Regions from separate parts of the Homo sapiens genome. Here region 1 is linked to region 2. The links are contacts of gene promoters, found by promoter capture Hi-C in blood cells and fetal thymus (Javierre and others, 2016). All regions are on one chromosome and are shown on one strand. The core of a region is centred on a gene start or on the middle of the fragment in contact, and the rest is flanking DNA. Distances in the headings are between cores, read along the strand shown. Region 1 overlaps SORBS1 (sorbin and SH3 domain containing 1). Region 2 holds the start of SORBS1 (sorbin and SH3 domain containing 1).

Evidence for each region. Contacts are between HindIII fragments. The CHiCAGO score rates a contact against its expected background, and 5 or more counts as called.
Region 1: a fragment that was not itself captured here is called in contact with the fragment with the promoter of SORBS1 in region 2 in 2 of 17 cell types (M2 macrophages and M0 macrophages); the score reaches 7.4 in M2 macrophages.

What each region holds. Positions count from the first base shown.
Region 1 is chr10:95,371,706-95,375,452 of GRCh38, forward strand. It overlaps SORBS1 (sorbin and SH3 domain containing 1), which reads right to left. Exons shown (of 33, transcript NM_001034954.3): 20 at 279-344. Among named protein-coding and RNA genes, the nearest start is that of PDLIM1, 83 kb to the left of the region's middle. The HindIII fragment of the contact is 875 bases long and covers 1,974-2,848 here.
Region 2 is chr10:95,559,366-95,563,353 of GRCh38, forward strand. SORBS1 (sorbin and SH3 domain containing 1) reads right to left here and starts at 2,006. Exons shown (of 33, transcript NM_001034954.3): 1 at 1,955-2,006. RefSeq lists an enhancer at 1,589-2,351 and silencers at 1,836-1,945, 1,986-2,355. The HindIII fragment of the contact is 3,213 bases long and covers 1-2,881 here.

The sequences.
Region 1 (3,747 bases), core at 1,161-3,660, 190 kb before region 2:
GGAAATGCCTATTTTCTCTTTTTTCAGAGTGTGGTGACAGTGACAAATACTATATGTCAGAAGAATACGTAATTGCTTTAAAAACCTCTAAACATTAGTATATGTCTTAGAGAATTTGTTACATAGTTTTATTACCTAACCAAAAAAAAAAAAGCATCAAGTTTTTTCAAAAGTGATTTAAGAAAACAAACAAACAAACAAACAAACCCACAACACACTCACACTAACCAAGGCTAGAGAGCACACACAGTCCAACGGAGGAGGCACAGCGGAATTACCTTTCTATCCTCTCTAGGAAGGATAGAGCAGTCTCCAGGAGTATAATCCCATATCTTTTTGGGAGGCTGACGGGAAGCAGAGGAGGAAATGAAGAAATGAGCATAAAGACATAAAGACAAACATGGAGACTGGCTCAAACAAGGAGGGGTACACTGGGAGAACTGTATCAACACAGAAAGGTGAACTCAAAAGCAAGGGGAGTGGGTGCTGCCTACGGACACAAGGCTGCCTGCTGGAGCGGAAGCCTGAGGATTTGGGAGCTGGGACTGTTACCTAGGAAGTCTGTTTCTATGTCTATGTTTCAAGAGCAAATCATCGTTGGATTCTAAATATTGAAAACTTAAGAAAAGACGGGGGGGAAAAAAGAAAAAAAAAGCATTAACAAATTTGAACAAAAACAGAAACTTTTAAATTCCTCATTGTTCTCTTCAAACTAAGATTGACACTGAAGATTCCACATTTTTGAGGCAGTCTTCTGCTGTAAAATTCATTGTGTATTAACACATGTGTGAATCTAGAGGTTTGGTCAACAGACTGAACCAAATTTACTTTCTGTGGTTTGTAGCAAAGAAATTCATATATAAAATGGGTGTTAAATAGTACACTAGACAATTTCATACCAGTAGTTTTAAAACCTCCTTTTACAGTTTAACTAGACCTTGATAGTGGTAGAAACATACTTTTCATCCCCCTTAGAGAACAGAGTTTAAACCCAGAATTTAAAGAGGGGACTGTAAGGTTATTTTTGTTTTGTCTTTTAACTCTTCAAGTCAGATTTACAGCTGCATTCCTAAGACAGAAATTTGCCAAAAGATTGTTGTAAGTTTAATGAGGGAAGAGTCCAGCGGGTGGAACATTCAGAGGTTACAGGTGACTTCTAACTCTGGATCCTCTCTTCTACTTGTTCTGTCTATTTAGACTTGAATTTTCTTACATAATGACCCCTAGGGTGATAAGAAATAGGAGATCATTAATAGCTCCTAAAATTTTGTGCAAATTTCATTATAGCCAACTCCATGGAAGCATTCAAATTGGTTTACATTGTGAAATTTTGACTTGCTCTTACATATAGAAATCATGTCAATTTCTATAGAAATTAGAGGAAAACAACTCAGAAAAAAAACTGATTCCCAGGCTCTTTGTAATAAATCTGCAAATGAGAAGTAATCTGATTCCAAGGTGTGTTCACCACTGACAGCAACAGGTCAGTAATGTCATCTCTGCACATGTATATTCCGCATTTCATAAAGTAAGTGATATTACCAATTACCATTCATCTTTAAGCACTTAATACACTTGGACTGTTCATCTGCAGAAGTAGACTTTTTAAAGCCTAATGACTTACGATCATTTCTTTACTGCAATAAACAGGGCAGTGTTTACAAATTAAACTGGTTTTAAATAATCTGTCCAAAAATGGTCCCTGGAGTCTTGAACTATTTGCTATTCTAACAACTTGTTGGAGCTAAAAAGGTATCTTTTTAGTCAGGATCTTGCTGAAATTTCAGTTCATTTTGGGTGGCTAAAGCGAAGGGGTGGAGGAAGCAAGGAGTTCAGGGTAAATGTCTAGTGTCAAAGTTCTGGCAGGCTTTACTGGGGAAAGTGGTCCCCAGTTGGTGTGAGAAAAAAAAAAAGTAGAAATGCTGATTCCCATGATCTGGTAGGATTTTGATTCTGCTTCTGAATGGCTGAAAAGCTTTCCAAAACAGCTTCCATGGTTTATGCCACTTTTATTTATGTCTCTTACTCTTTTGTGGCAGAGTGGTTGCAGTAGGAAGTGAAGAAAAAATTTATCCTTACCACACCTTCCTCCCAAACCCTGTTAGTTCAACTAGGTAATAAGCCCACCATTAGGATGCCTCAGACCATAAGGAGCTGTTCATTTCAGGACTGTTCCTCAGGATATGGGCATTGATTTAGTTAATTTGGCAAGTCTTCACAAGTATTATCTTTTAAAGTAAGACCTACACAAAAAGAAGCAGTCTCATTAGAAGAACTCTGAGGCCTGTGCAAAGAATGCATGTGGCTTCAGAGAAAATGCTACTTTGAAAAAGCATCTCTGAGTCTTTAAATAATTAAGAGGTTGTTAGAGCAATGGGGTGGGGAGACAAGCTAGAGGAAAGCCCCAGTATACAACTGGACTGTGTTCTCAACATTTGTTTGAAGTTAGCTGTGTGGTACCTGGAGTGAAGTTTTTGGCAGCAATACTGTTAATTTATCAAGCTATGCATGGAGACTATTTAAATGTATGCTGGTATTAAAATACTATATATTATCCTCAAAAATTATTTGTAATGATAGATTTAGTAAAACAATCACAACTAATTAGGGAAAAAATTCCACCATTTTTCCTGAAAGCTAATATTTTAGATAAAACTAATTTAGTTGTTTGGCAGATGAGATGGGCAGAAATGTGTGGATTCTGAAACAGACTTGAAAAATCAACGGCATGGACTCTATTAAACATAACTTAATAGCTTTTGCTTTCCTTGACTAAAGTATGGCATTATTGTTTCATATACCAATCATGGTCTGTTTTGGGGGTGGGGAGACAACTACACACAGCAAAAGCTTTTTTCGGTGACATAATTGACCAGGTTTTAAGAAAAGGAGAAAAGAGAAAGGGTTAGGATACTGTTAAATACTGCACGTGGAAAAGATTGCCTGAGGTAGATTTAACTGATGTCTGAATGGTGAACAGCAGAGGCGAAAAAAAGAAAGGAGAGAAAGGAGAAGAAATGAGGTGTGCACCAATGCTTTGGGGAGGGGAGAAGGAGGGTGCAGACTTTGGGTCAGATGCGTCCCTCTCCACTGGTCACTAGGTGGCGCTGTTCATCCAGGACAGCTCAGCTGCTATCGGGAGACAGTGTCTAGGAGGGACCAGAAGAGAGGAACAAGCAGGCTGTTTGCAAGTCTGGTGCTCTTAACTCAGAAGATGCCTGAACTTTCAAAGCTCAGCACTGCCAAATCAAAGAGCAATTCCTAAGCACCAACTTAATTTCTCTTTGTCTTTGTTTTAATAAAAAATTTTAAAACATTTTATTTACTCAACTATAAAATACATTCCTGTCTGCAAATAAAACTATCATCCCAGACCACAGAAACTCAAAAGCTGGATCCAATGCATAAAGTCTCATACAATCATTGAATAAAATGTGTTTATACACTTAACTCCTCTACCTGTAAATTCTTTTTGCAGCTGTAATAATTAAGACTTTAAAATAACTAGAGTTTTAAAGTCAGTTTCGTTATCTCTAGAGGAAGGATGAGCTCAATTCTCCCTTCTATTTTATATTCCTTTGGGTGCAAGGCTAAGAAAATCCTCCTTTAAGTGCCAAAAGTCAATTTGTACCAAAGCCAATTCAGAGATATCATGGGGCAACTGTAGGCTGAATACTAAAGATGCTAGAATTCCTTACTCCCATTTCAAACTTTGGGAAATATCCTACATCATAGAAATCATTCCCT
Region 2 (3,988 bases), core at 756-3,255:
CAATCTCTTCCGAAAAGTATACAGAAACTCTCCAACTACAACAAATGAAAGCAGGTAGGAGAAGGAAAAGGCCAACAAGGCGGGTATCGTCCACAAGATGACAATACCCTCCCAACTCTTTACCCCACAGGGTAGACAGCAGTTCATTTCAGTTGCTAATTCCCTGCAGGGAAGTCGCCAAAGGAGTGGTCTCAGGGCCCTCCAGCTGAGAAATGTGCTCTCTGCAACCCCTGGAGAACTAACCCTTTCCTAACCATCTGCTCCAACAGTGCCTTGGGCAAAGGTGCCAACAGACCAACCCTTCCCTTCTTTCCCCTCAGGCCAAGAAAGAGACATCAGAGCTTGGTTGGCAAGGGGCTATTTAAGGCAGCATCCAGAGGGCGGGGCAGAAAACTGCTGGAGGCATCCTCCTCCTCCACCCCTCCCCCTCACAGCCCAAACACACGCCCCTCACTCTGTAGACAGCCATCTGCCTCATCGGTGTCTGAAGGCTGTAGATATGTCCATCATCTGTCTTCTGTCATTGATGCTGCTGACCCCTCTGTGTCCACCCCACTTTTAATCCAACCCTCCTCTCTTCGATCACCACCAAGATACCTTTCCAACCAAAACCACAGAATTGAATCTAAGCAGAGGAGCTCAAAACACAAGGAGAGTGAAGACAGCCAATCCATCCCCCGCCTCCACTTAAGAGGAAAAAAGGGCGCGGGGGGCTGGGCGGGGGGGGGGGTGTTGAGGGGAGAGATGGAGTCAGAGGCCTGACACGCCAGATAGGTTCCATGATGTCTCTAGATGAACCTCCCTCCTATTGACGATGAAACCAATTCCAGCAATTTCAGCAGGTCGGCCCTGTGACAACAGGGGCATCCCAACGCTCAGTGTTTAAAACAAAAATCCAAAGGCTCGCCCAGAACATGCTGGGAAAAACCGAGGACTGAACAAAACGAGCCATGCTCAGTGGGATCCCTTCTGCTTTTACGTAGCAATGTAATAGCGTAATAAATTCTTGTCTGCCTGGAGAAAGCATGCACTGGTGAATTTCAAAGCCATCTTACGACAGCGGATGCATGGGGATGCAGAATTCGACAGCACATTCCCCCATGAAGGAAACATAATGACTTCAAGCCTCTTTCCCCTCTATCTTGAATGGCGCTACCACGTATCAAGGAAGCCACATCGGAAAGCAGCGAGGTGGTAGCAGGGGATGCCCGGGGAATTCGGAGAAAGGAGTTGCTTGCTGTCCATGTCGGTGATGAGCTGCCTAGCAAGATGCTGTCAGCCACTCGGGGAGAAGAAGGGGCACGGGCGGCACGGGCAGGCGCCGTGTCCCCGGCGCATACTAGTCCCCGTTCATTCAGGCGGGTCCGGCCAACCGCGTCGTCCTTGCGCCCCTCCCGCCGCCCTCTCCAGGGGATGCTGATGAATGAACACACCTGAGATGCCTCCATCCCGCCGCTCGCTCCCTCCGCCTTCCTCTGGCTGCTGCAGAGGTGCCCCTCCTCGGTAGTTTCACTTTACAGCACAAACCCATTCGGGCTTTGATGTCTCCTCCACCCACCCAAATTGCAGCCACCCTGAGACGGGCGGACATTCTCTCCTAGCAGAGGCCATGATCGTACTACCCCACACCCACCAAAAAAGGAAATTTAAAAACCCCCAACCCTGGAAGCCCCCAGATCCTCCGCACCCTGGGGAACTTTCCTTGAAAGACTGGGGATTCGCCGAGCAGGCAGGATGGACGGTTCGGCCGCGAGGGACCACCGCTTTCCCTGTGCCCATGGGGGGATGCTCTGGGGGAGGGGGTCCCCCAAGTCCCTCCAACAGCTGGCCCTTTAAATGCGCCTCCTCCGAGCGCGGAACAAAGGCGCCGCCCGCGGGGGCCGAGCCGCGCACACCCCCGGCGCTGCCGCCGCCGAGCGGGCAAGCGCGGCCGGGCGGGCGAGCGCGGGCTTACCTTGCTGGTCGCCGGGCGGGCGGGCTGCGCGCGTCCGCCCCACTCGCACTACACGCTGCAGCTGGCCCCGCTCTGTTTTTCTGGGACTCAGCGCTGACTTCACCGACACTCCGCGGACAACCAATGGGCTGCGGTGCCCGCCCCCTCATTAGCATGCCTCTGGAACCGTCCACTCTGGCAGCGCCCGGCCAGCGGGCGGTGCCGGGGGCGGGGCCGGGCCCAGCCGTGACAGGAAGGGGCGTGTGCGCGGATGGGAGGCGAAGAAGTGTCCGGCGCCCGGCTCCTGGCATTGTGAGCCCGCCGGCCTCCGCCGGTAACGGGCGCGCGGGCCTAGTAACCCTTTCCGTCCTGGCCGGGCCGGACGCTGGCCTGGCGCGCCTTCTGGTCCTTCGGAAGGGTCGCCCACGGGGAGCTTGGAAGGAACCTTAGACGTAAAATAACAGTGATAAGTTATTTAACTCCTGGGCCTCAGTTTACCCATCTGTAAAATGGCATAATAGTCCGACTTCGTAAAATCTAGTGAAGATTAACATAGTTAACATAGGTGATGCATTTTGATCAGTTCCTGGCCGTCGTGCTACATAAACGTTTGCTGTTGTCATTCGTGTGCTCTGTACCAGCCAGTGTGCTTAATGCTTCCCGGATATTTCCTCATTTGATCCTCTTAGCCTGATAAGAGAGGAACGATTACTAATCCATATTTTTCTAGTGAGAAAACTGAAAATAATTACTATTTTTATGCAGGAAAACTGAGGTGTAGTTTAAGTGGCTTGTCCGAGGTCACACAGCAAGTGGTGCAACCAGGATTTGAACCCAGGCTCTGAGATTTCACTCATGCAACACACATATATTTAGAGGCTCTGTGGCAGTGCTGGACCCCAGTGTTAACTGCAGAGAACAAGACAGGCAAGGCCTTTTCCCTTAGGAAGCTTCCATTTTAGTGGAGACAAGTAAATAAATAAGATCCTCTACAATGTGAAAAGTAGAGTGCATACAATGCAACAAGGTCATTGCAAGTGGGGGGAAGGCACCGTGTTAGATGGGGTTCAGAGCTAACCACTGTGCTATGCCATTCTCCTGACCTCCTCTAGTCCCCCTCAGAGTTACAGAAAAGGAAACAGAGACAGGGATCAGAGTGGGGAATCTGCTGGCCCAAGGTCGCAGAGCCAGCAAGTACTGGTCTGGAACTTGCTCCCTCCATGCCCAGCTTCCCACATCCCTGAAGATAAGACACTCGCCCTTTGGGCTGAGCACAACTGATTTTTGTCAGCTGCCCTTGCAAGCATCTTCAGCCAGAGCACATTCTCAGTGAACAGGCTGTGGGTGGCAGGGTAAAGACTGGCCTTGATAACTGCACAGACTGATCGGAAACTCATCAGCAAAGATTCTTAGATGTCAGGGAACGGTGACAAGTCTTTGGTGACCACCTGGTGTCCTCTGCTGTGTATTAAAAAAAAAAAGAAGAGTCCTAGCCATCTGGAAGCTTACTCTATAAATGAGAAAACACTGGGGAACTACTCAACCTAGGGAGCCCCCAGCCCACGGCCTTCCCCTATCTGCACCTCATCCTGCAGCTTTTCAAAGAACACTTCCCCGGCTCTCCTATTTATTTACTCCACAATCTGTGTAAGACAGCTCTCTCTGGGCTATAAAGTAATAAAACAGCTAGTATTTATTGAGCACGTCTAGGCTGCTATGCACCGTACTATACTTGTGCTAAGAGCTTTACATGCGTTAACTCACATCCACCACACGACCCCAGGTGGGAATAGTGTCGTTATCCTGAGGTTATCCACAGAGGTGTATAACAAAGGGTAGAGAGACTAGTTACTTACCCAGCAAATTCAGGGCAACACCATTTTAGAATAGCCAAAAAAAAAAAAAATCAAAACAATCCAAATATCCAATTTGAGTGCATTGGTTAATAATAGTACAACCATATGACAGAATATCATATATTAATAGCTACAAAAAATGAAGAGGTTTATTGACACATAAAGATGCTCATAATAGGCTGGGAGTGGTGGCTCACGC